2 separate regions of the Homo sapiens genome follow, and region 2 is linked to region 1. Evidence: promoter capture Hi-C in human tissues and cell types (Jung and others, 2019). All regions are on one chromosome and are shown on one strand. Each heading gives the region's core, a stretch centred on a gene start or on the middle of the fragment in contact. The rest is flanking DNA. Distances are from core to core; before and after follow the strand shown. Region 1 holds the start of CTNNAL1 (catenin alpha like 1). Region 2 overlaps LOC105376205 (a long non-coding RNA gene).

Region 1 (5,280 bases), core at 2,105-4,604:
CTCCTGAATAGCTGAGACTAGAGTAGCTGGGATTACAGGCACCAGCCAGTGCGCCTGTGCCTTGTTTGTTATCAATGTAGAAAAATGCAATTGATTTTAGTATCCTACACTCAGTGAACTTGCCAACACTCCTAATTTTTATAATTTACTTGTAGACTGTTTTGAGTTTTCTGCATAGGTTATTATATCACACTGAGACTTTTGGTTTTTCCTTTCCTATATTTATTCCTTTTATTTCTTCTCCTTGTCATATTACACTGGCTAGAATTTCCAGTGCAGTGCTGAGTAGAAGCATAGCAGGCACCCCACTCTGGTTTCTGGCTTTAAAGGAAATGTTTATTTTAAATTTGACTGTTGCTATGATGTTAAGTAAAAGTTTTCTGTAGATACTCTATCAGGTTAAGGACACTTTTTCCTAACACTAGTTCCCTAAGTGCTTCTTATCATTATTAGAAGCTGAATTTAGTTGAATGCTTTTTCTGCATCATTGTTAGGAAAATACATCTTTTATAATCTGTGAATGCAAAAAAAACTATACACATTTTTCTAATATTGATAAAATCTTGCATTCTTAGAATAAGGCCAGTAACCCAGGACTTTTCACTTGGAGAGTCAGAAGAAGCTAGATGATACCAGAATAGAAACTGTCTACTTTAAACCGTATAGTGCCAGTCCTACTTGTTTACCTCAAAACCCTGCCTCCTCCATGACATCACTGCTGACTCATCCATGCCTTCTCTGAGCTTTTAGAGTATGTACCATTGATGATGTTCATTTGACACTTTGCATGTGCTGTTCTATACATGACCTATCTACCAACTAGAATATAAGCCCCTCAAAAAACAGCAACAAATAAGCACACAATAAATCCTTGCTTAAAATGCTTAAAATATCCTTGTGGATGAGATGGTGAAACATGAGTTGGGTAATAATACAGCATTCTCAGAAAATGAGACTTGTGGACATATGAGTTTTCTGGAGAACTGCTGTTTTAATCTCCTAACACTGAAACTTTAAAATCATTCTAAATTGTACTTCCCTGCTTTGTTAACCGAGTATTCTGGCCATGCTTAATACACTTCTTGATTTTAACTTTTTCTTGTTAAGGACAGTCAATTATGAGGAATATCAGTTATGGTGTTGTGGTAGAGATGTAGCTGTAGATACACAATGTGTGGGATGCAAAACCTCAGCTGTGACCCTGAACAAGGCTTTAACTGGAAAAAGAAAAAAAAAAAAAGGCAGGCATTCTTCCCCTTTGGCATTGACCTCTAACTCTCAGCAGTGATTTATACTTTTCTTCCTCTGCTCTCCTACCCTTCTCTGGCTTCTTTTACCCCAGAGTTACACAATGCAGAGCTGTAAGACTGATACATTTTTAGCAGTGGATACTGTGAAAAGTTGCCATTTCTCCAGATTATGACTTTCTAGCTTGTTTTTCCACTATGTACCATCTTTTTCTCTAGATCTCATTACTGCTTCTAATCTCTAGAGAGGACACAGCATAGTGTAGCAAAGAGAACCTTCTGGAGCCAGGGTACCTGGATTCAAATCCCAGTTTGGCACTTATTGAAAGCCCTAACAACAAATTATTTAACCTCAGTATTCCTCAGTTTCCTCTCCCATACCACGAGAATATATACCAACTTCACATGATTGTTATGAGAATTAATGAGTTAATATTTACAAAGTGCTTAGAACCTGGCCTACCACATAGTAAGCATTACATAGGTGTTATTTAAAAAATGGATAAAATACTATCAACTTGAACTCCATCACTCTCTTATCTCTCTGCCTCTTAAAACTGCTCCAGTGTTTCTCGTTTTGGTTGTGTTGTGCTAGTGGAGATAGGCGAGGAGCGGAGGGTCTGACATTACTGAGGGATCCCAGTGCCCCTTCCCACTGGTCAGAGCCTCAATGAGACACAGGAAAAGGGAAGGAGAGTGTCAGATATATTCATCACTGCTCCGTTAGCCATGCGAAGGTGAAGAAAATAGGGATGTTTATTTAACCAGCATAACAGGAATCCAGGGACATGTGTAACTGCTGTTTTCAAATATGCGCAGGGCTGGGCAGGAGAAGAGATAATAGCATTTAGAATTCTATGCAACAGCTACAGGCTCCCCTTCACTGAACATGTTTAAGCAGGGTACTGGTGGCCAGGTGTCAAGGATGCTAAAGAAAGAATTTTTAGTCAGATAATCTTTAAGATTTCTTCTACCTCTAAAATCTTGGTAATCCTAGTATGAGTCACGAAGTGGTTACAACCTAGATGTGAGTCACACATCGCCAACGCGCTCCCGAAGGCACAGAATTCACTCCCCACAGTGCTTGGCATCTTACCACAGACCTAAGTGAGGAATTCTAGCCCTGAAGCTGCATATAACCCAGCTCAGAGAAACAAAAACTTTCCTAAAACTCAGGGCGTCGGTTAGCTGATTGGCAAATACAGTAACGCACACATCCCAAACGGGACTTGGCAAAACGGTGTGCATCTGGATTAACTGTCATACAGTCTCCACGTCACTCTTCCACGAGGCCGGACAGAAGCGGGCAGAAGTGAGCAGCAGCAGGTTCAGGGGAAGGGGTAGGGTGGCCGGGATGAATGGGAGGCCAGCGAACTGACCTACGGCGGGGAGGGACAAAGGATCAGGGAGCGCACGCTGGGCGGGGAGGCCGGGAGGAATACCCCAGGCGGAGGAGCCGGGCTCGGGACCAGGCTGCGAACTGGTGACAAAGTCGGTTATCGTGGAGGGCCCTAAGTACCAGCGAGGGGCCCCGCGGGGGTCCTCTCTGCCTCGGGAGCTGGGCTCAACCACTCGCCCCGCGGAGGGGGCATCGCCCGGCCGGGGGCACCCGGGAGCCGCAGACCCGAGGCAGGTACTGGGGGCAAAGGCCCAGGCCGGCACCCCCGCCCCGCAGCCTCCCCTGCTGCCGAGTCCACTCAACCCTGCCGCCGGAGTTTGGATTATCCAGTCTCTCGCCGCCCGGGCCGAGGCCCGTCCCGGAGCCCCACACAGGCGGTCCGACAAGAACGCCGCAGTGCCGGCGCGGAAAGTGGGGCAGCGGCTGCCTCCCGTCCGGTCGTGCGAGCGGCGGCCGCCATCGCGGGCCGCGGCGGGAAGGAGAAGAGGGGCCGCGCCAGGCGCCACTTTACCTGAGAAACCAGCGGGAGTAGCGTCTGCTCCACCGAGCGAGTTTTGATCTCCAGTCCCGAGTCGAGGGCGAAGCCCGAAGAGCCGGAGCCGTAGACTGCTCCGGCGCCGCCAACGCCGGCGGGTCCGGGAGAGGCGGCCATGGCCCTCGGTCTATCCCGCAGCCGGGACTCCGCGCCGCGGCGAGCCTGCCGCCAGTCAGCCCACCCGCCCGAGGCGGCGGCGACAGGACACTCGCGCCAACCGAGACCCCGCCCCCAGGGGCCCGCCCCCCCAGGGCTCCGCCGCCAACCCTGCGTCCCCGACGCCCGTCACCGTATGTCCCCGCCCACCCCCGGCCTCTGCCCCGCCCGCGCAGTCCAGCCTGGTGTGGGCTCCCTGCAACCCCACCCCCTAAGCCGGGTCCCGCCCCCACATGGCCCCGCCCTTATCTCTTCTCAGACCCCTTCCATGGGTTCCAGGCACCTTCTCGCCAGGGTGGCGAGGAGAAACAAAACACATCTGTCACACAGCCACATGGCCTCCTCTTACTTGGACAGACAAGCGTCCCCAGCAAAGCTTCCCGTCCTCTCGATAGGTGACTCGTCCTAAATCAGCTCTGAATTCCCGCAAAGACTTCTGGAAGCTGTGCTGGGGTTGAAACTGGTAGACCAAAACCAGAATCAAGTCTGTTGGGAGGGGCCTTTCCCCTGGGACGGGAATTCCAGTGGTAATGTCTTCCTGGGGCTTCTCCGGAAGGTCCAATTTCCACTCCACCCTGCTCATTCTTTCACCATGTATTTCTCACAAACACTTTGAGCTGGATTGAAGGGGAAACATTTGATAATGCAATCATTAATGGAGTATCTGGGTATTCGGCAGGAAGTCAGTATATCTTTCACACTACTGTTTAGACTTATTCAAAAGAAATTTAAAAGAAACATGAAAAAGCCTCATCTACTGTTCAACACTACTTCTTAAAACTATTTTTCGAAGTTTTTTCCTAGTGCCAGGCACAGAGCAGTTTCTTCATAACTGTTCATTGCATGAAAACACCAAGTGTGTATTTCTGACAACTCACTTGAGGGGAAGGGTAAGAATCAGTTCTGTAAGCACAACTCTGAGCTCGCACAGAGCCCCACGATGGGGGCGGGGAGCTGAAGACTCCTATTCTAAGGTCTCCAGGAGCAAGGCCAAAAGGAGGTTGTCAGCAGTATGCACGCCGTGAAGGAATTCCAGACTTAAGCAACAGACTGAGAAGCATGAAAAAATGTTTTGTCAACTACCATATCTGCCAGTGAGAACCTGTCAGAGTAAAAAAGAATCTGAGGCTGGCCAGTCCACCCGGACACCTTGGCCTGGATCATTTCTTCTTCCATAACACCAGATTGATGAGCTGGGTACATCAACCTGAGGCATAAGAAAGCTCTTTCCCAAGCACCGTTGAAAGGCGCTTCACAGTGCTTCAACCTGTAGCTTCAGCTTCATCAATCTACCAGTGCTGCACAGCTGTCTTTGGTATTGAAGATAGCCAAGCTTCAGCTTCTTTTTCTTCATTCAAAAAGGACAGGTCCTCAATCCAACTTTTTCTTCCAATTCTTCTCAGCCAACCATCTCACCACTTCCTTACCTATCACAAGGCCACCTTCCCCTGTGCACTGAGGGCCCTTGACCTCTTTAAGGCGCCCAGTGTCCACTTCCTGGACACACCTTCCCTTACGAAGTTGACAGTATCTCCTAAGAATTCAGTGTACACAATGGTGCCGGAGGAAATGGCATAACAGAAGGCCTAAGAGACGGATGGATTCATGAAACTTTGGCTTCACAAAAGATCAAGTTTTTCAACACACAGGAGATTAAGTTTACCACATGATTCATTCAACACTAGTAATTTTATTTCAAAATATAAATATTTCACATTAATAAAGAAGTTACATCAGTAGGTTGTCAAAGCAAGTTAGCTAAGAAACAGCATTTGTGTGAGAACAGAGGGTATTTATTGTATTCGAATATTCTTTTTTACTTTTGAATTGCCTCCTTCACCTGAGAACCCAGGGATGATACATTTTCAAAGAGTTATGTAAGCAATTACAACTCTATATCAAATCTTAGTTCAAAATCAAATTGTACTGGAAATACACTTCAG
Region 2 (5,466 bases), core at 2,529-5,028, 1.4 Mb before region 1:
AAATAAAATAAAAAGCCTTTATTTATAGTGTTGGCCAATGACCCCCTCCAGTCTGATATCAAGTTAGCAAAGTGAAGTTACTGAATGCTCAGGAAAAAATACACAGTCAGCTCTGGGAAGTAAGTAAGTGCCACCTCGAGCACACCACAAGGTTACTAACTCTTCTCTCTGCCCCGAAACTTGTGGTGGCCTCTGTGGCTTAGCAACTATCACATAGCTGAAATCATCTGTGTATAGGTCTCTTACATGAGACTGTGTGAGTTTTTAAAGGTTAGCACCCATGTTTTGATTAAAGGGTTTAATGATGATTAAGTGAATTGAACCTATTATTAAAATGTGTGAATACATATAACACGCTTAGAAGTGCTCATATAAGTGAAAGCTATGCCTACTAGCTGTTACCTTTGTCTCCCAGTAAAGGCCAGAAGCACCAAGATGTCTGTTGAAGGGATGAATTAATTCTTAACCTAAATGGGTACCCAAGCTCTGTTTTCCTTATTCTTCTTGTTTTTACAGATTATTTCTTTGCTGAAAATAAATTTTTAATTTTTTTTTTTTGTAAAGATTAGGGTCTTGCTATCTTGCCCAGGCTGGTCTCAAACTGTTGGCCTCAAGTGATCTTCCCACCTTGGCTTTCCAAAGTGCTGGGATAATAAGCTTGAGCCAATAGGCCTGGCCTGTCCAAAATAATTTAGAATTCTATGCAAGTTTTTGTTTCATGGTGAAAACTCTCTCACCAAATTCTTTTGGACAACAAGGGCCCTCCCAATCCATTCTGTCAACACTGGCACAATCATGGTGGGGTGAATTGAATTTGGATTCTGATGGAGGCTTCTCACTTTTTTTAGCTGGGCATCTGAGTGCTGTACCTCTCTGAGCCAAGTTTCATTATCGGAAAAAGGAAGACATGCCATCAACTTCCATGGGGTTAATGAGACCAGTAAACAAGTTTTGGAGCTGCACCAGTTGTCCTGTTCGTTTCCCATCCCCATCCCCATGTTCTACCCTTCCCTGCCCTTCTCCGTTGGTGCCTGGAAGTCGACTGCGACAGCACTCCTTGGCCTCAGCCATCCCCTGGAACTTAGCTAGTGGGAATAGCGGCAGAAGATTGGGGGCATGTGGGAGGAGAAAGACGCTCCCTTCTGGCCAGGCACTGTGGCTCACGCCTGTAATCCCAGCACTTTGGGAGGTCGAGGCAGGTGGATCACGAGGTCAGGAGATTGAGACCATCCTGGCTAACATGGTGAAACCCCGTCTCTACTAAAAATACAAAAAATTAGCCGGGCGTGGTGGCACGTGCCTGTAGTCCCAGCTACTCGGGAGGCTGAGGCAGGAGAATCACTTCAACCTGGGAGATGGAGGTTGCAGTGAGCCAAGATCACGCCATTGCATGCCAGCCTGGGCAACAGAGCGAGACGCCATCTCAAAAAAAAAATAAAATAAGGCTCCCCTTTGCTTCAGCTTGGTCTGACCAATGATACATCACACATCACAGCCTCCACGATCCAGCTCCAGCTCCCAGTGGTGGCTGCCAATCTCCTTGGGCTCCAGCTCTTAGCCAGGCATAGGGTTGAGGAGGAATTAGGTCTTCAGCCTTCTTAGTCCCAGAGTGTCTCAAAATACATTGTTATTCCATGCAATCCTACCCAGACCTTGACAAATAGTCCCTTTAATATAATTTATTTTAAGTATCCCAGACCAGTATGTCATCTGCTTTCTGCCAGTACCTGGACAATATCAAATCTGGTGTCTGGGCTGTAAGAGAGGTTTAATAATAATAACCTGAGCAGCCAGTCTTTATTCAGGATTTAGCTTGGGCATTATGGCCAGTCATTTTTCTGTTTCAGTTTTTTTAAGAACCATTATATCATTGAATCTTCACAAAGGCGCTGTGTGGGAGATATTAATTATTATACCCATTTTGCAGATGAGAAAAGTAAAGCTTTAAGGTGTTAGTGATTAGCTAAGTCATCCAGCTAGTATGCAGGGGAATCAGGATTCAAATTAGTTGATGTTAATAATACTGTTATTTGGCGAACAGGGACCAAATCTTAGACTCTGACTCTCACTGCAGTCTTGTACCCAGAAGTGCTCGGCAGACACTCGCTGATGGATGGAGGCTTGTAGTTCAGAGCCCTAAGTTTCTGCCTCATCTGTGTTTTCCGGGAGTTCTCCCTGTGGCTTCAGGGCCACACGTGCCTCTACAGACCCTTGCTTCTTGTTCAGAGAGTGTCTGGGCTGCTGTGTTCCCAAACAAGCCCTGGGGATGGAGTTTTTCTTTCATTACTTCTTGCCCATATTTCTACACACTCTGAGCTGCCAGCACAGCCTCCTTGTTCCTCCACCCTCCTGGTCACTCATGCCCACTGGTGTTTACAATACGCCTCCAGCATCTGTGGACTTCATTACAGCCTGTGCTACACCCTCTTCCTGCTCATCGGTGCAGACTGCATGAGGCCAGACTGAACACAGCTCCCCAGGGTGCCTGCCAGACACTTCCACCAGCCCTGCCAGATTCCCTTCTCTGGGGACAGCCAGCCAACCTCTAATCCAGGTGTCTCTGCAGGATAAACATTCCCCATGGGGCACCAAAGCCATATTCTGTTCTAGCCTGTGCTATAGTTAGCACTATTTGGAGAGTGACTTAGAGCATTAGTTTTGGAGTCAGGAAGACCTGCCACTTAGTAGCGCTGTGATCTTGGTTCAGTAGACTAACTTCTCTGACCCTCGTGTTCCTAGTCTGGAAAACTGAAGATAAATAGAGTTGAGAAATGGGATTGTTCCATGGAAAGCACCTGGCTCATCTTAGGCACAGAATTCATTCTCTCTTCCTCCTAAAGACCACTCTGGGGATACTAACGAGCAAGAAGTAGAGTACATTTGTCATTTATTTGCTTATTTTTGTAGTGCTCTTGACTAGGTGTTGATATATTATCAGAGATTATAAACACAATTATCCCCATTTTATAAACATTCCAAGTTCAGAGAGCTTAAGTTAATTTGCTTATATTCACCCAAATAACAGGTTGGGTTTACCATTGACCCTAATTTAAACTGACTCTCTATTTTTAATTTTCTCTTGTCATTTTTTTTTTCAGAAATGAAAAGAAACAACTAAGTGATATTCGCCTAAATGAAACTGCCTGTATTTCTTGTAAAAAGATAGTCGCCTTTGCTCTCTGCACTTTTTTTTGTTTGTTTGTTTGTTTTTTGAGACAGAGCCTTGCTCTGTTGCCCAGGCTGGAGTGCAGTGGTACGGTCTTGGCTCACTGCAACCTCCACCTCCTGGGTTCCAGCGATTCTTGTGCCTCAGCCTTCCCAGTAGCTGGGATTACAGGCGTTCACTACCATGCCCAGCTAGTTTTTATATTTTTAGTAGAGATTGGGTTTCGCCATGTTAGCCAGGCTGGTCTTGAACTCCTGGCCTCAAGTGATCTGCCTGCCTCAGCCTCTCAAAGTGCTGGGATTACAGACATGAGCCACCCCACCTGGCCTATTTTTCTTTATCCAGATATTCTCTCATGAAAGTAGTTGTCATTTGTGACTCCATAATCTCATTATCTAGTTTTCTCTGCTCCTTGGATGAGCTGAACTTTCCAAGCCCTTTTTGAGATATTGCCTATCAAGGATGAAATGCAGGAAAGTCATACTCTCAGTGGACTGACATGGGAGTGTTTATTCCGTAGGACTCAAGTCAGGACTTGGGTTGGGGCTAAAGTCGGGGATGGTCTGGATGACAGAATGAATTTGACATCATTGTCATTGTTATGCATTTTCTCCTTATTAAGCTCAGAAGTTGAGGCATGTTTAAGAGTTTCTTTCTTCTTATATCATTGTTTTATTTGAGAATTTAAATAGGGCTGTGAGCTTTCACTCACCACCATATTATGAGCTCCCTGCTGGGTCTCACTGATCTCTGAACCTTGTATGGCCCCTTCTACAGTGCTTTGCATACAATGGCGGACAAACTTGAATGAACGAACATTTATGGAGCACTCTATTGTTCTCTATATTATTCTGTTTGCTTGCATGGATAGCGGTGGACACTGGTTCTGAACCTGATTGGACCTTCCGGCTCTACATGTAGTGCTTTCCTCACACTTCAGCTGTCCGGCAATATCTCTATCAATGATGGTTGTTGAGCAAGATTTGTCTTTTCTTTTAAAGACTGCCAGTGATGTCATATATGGTGTTGGGGGAAGGAAGGTGAATAAGAAATATATAGAGAGGGCTGGGCGTGGTGGCTCAGGCCTGTAATCCCAACACTTTGGGAGGACGAGGTGGGTGGATCATGAGGTCAGGAGATTGAGACCATCCTGGCCAACATGGTGAAACCCTGTCTCTACTAAAAATACAAAAATTAGCCAGGAGTGGTGGTGTGCACCTGTAGTCCCAGCTACTCAGGAGGCTGAGGCAGGAGAATCACTTGAACCCCGGAGGCAGAGGTTGTACCACTGCACTCCAGCCTGGGCAACAGAGTGAGATTCCATCTCAAAAAAATGTATATATATATACAGATATATATACACACACAGAGAGAGAAAGGCAATTTTGGAAGGAGGGTGAGTGAAGCAGGCATGATCTCTCTTCACAGACAGGATTATAACGAGCCTCAGTTGACTGGGTGGTTCCCTCGGCATGTGAGAGTAAAGAGGTTGAAAGAAACCAATGTGTTATCATGGGAACTGTCCCAGTTTTATAATCTTCATTTATTAAAAGGGCTGAAAATGAACACATGGAGAGCAGGGAAAATTCAGTGAATGGGAAGTAATGCAGGCTAATAATTTAAATACAAGTTTTGAAGTGGGAAATCAGAGAGTGGAGAAATATTTTGAGGAGTCTTTGAGCTGCTCAAATTGCTTTTCCTGGTTAAGAAATAATTGGCTGCAGGTGAGGAAAAGAATTACGGTTCTGTATCTGAAAAAGATGCATTGAGGTTAGTGCTTCTTGGCCAAAAAGATATCAACCAAGGAGCATCTCAAGGAGAGGGGGAACGGTCCTCTGTGCAGGATGGCCACTTGTCTGAGCAGGAGATGCCTGACAGAGCTCCTGGAAGGTGAAAGGACCTGAGGTGAAATTGTTGATGGAATTAGTCTGATTGCAAAAATGGTCACAAATTATTCCCCACCCTGTATGTATATCCCTGTGTGATGTAACAGCAATTCCTCTCATCAGGAGGTGACATCTATTTCTCCAGCCCTACCATCTTGCCTTGGCCATGATTCCAACATGTGACTTATTTGGTCAGTAAGAGAGTAGCAAATGTGATGCAGTCAGAGGCTTGAAAAATGCTTCAGGTTGAGAATTGCCTTCTCCTGATGCCCTTGGTTACACTGCAACCACCAGCACATGAATAAGCCCTGGGCAGCCTGCTGGATGACAAGAGACACATAGCCCAGTTGCTTCCATCACCCTGCTGAAAGCCAGATGTCTGAGGCTGCTGATGGCCAGCAGATCTCAGGTAAA

Evidence for each region. Contacts are between HindIII fragments. The study calls those that stand out against the background at their distance.
Region 2: a contact is called between a fragment that was not itself captured here and the fragment with the promoter of CTNNAL1 in region 1, in 1 of the 25 tissues and cell types used here (lymphoblastoid cells).

What each region holds. Positions count from the first base shown.
Region 1 is chr9:109,010,145-109,015,424 of GRCh38, forward strand. CTNNAL1 (catenin alpha like 1) reads right to left here and starts at 3,355. Exons shown (of 19, transcript NM_003798.4): 1 at 3,158-3,355. The coding sequence starts at 3,298. It overlaps TMEM245 (transmembrane protein 245), which reads right to left. Exons shown (of 18, transcript NM_032012.4): 18 at 4,991-5,280. RefSeq lists an enhancer at 2,543-3,046 and a silencer at 2,708-3,597. The HindIII fragment of the contact is 6,778 bases long and covers 1-4,191 here.
Region 2 is chr9:107,651,015-107,656,480 of GRCh38, forward strand. The region is part of intron 8 of LOC105376205 (a long non-coding RNA gene); the gene reads left to right. Among named protein-coding and RNA genes, the nearest start is that of KLF4, 160 kb to the left of the region's middle. The HindIII fragment of the contact is 4,958 bases long and covers 1,300-5,466 here.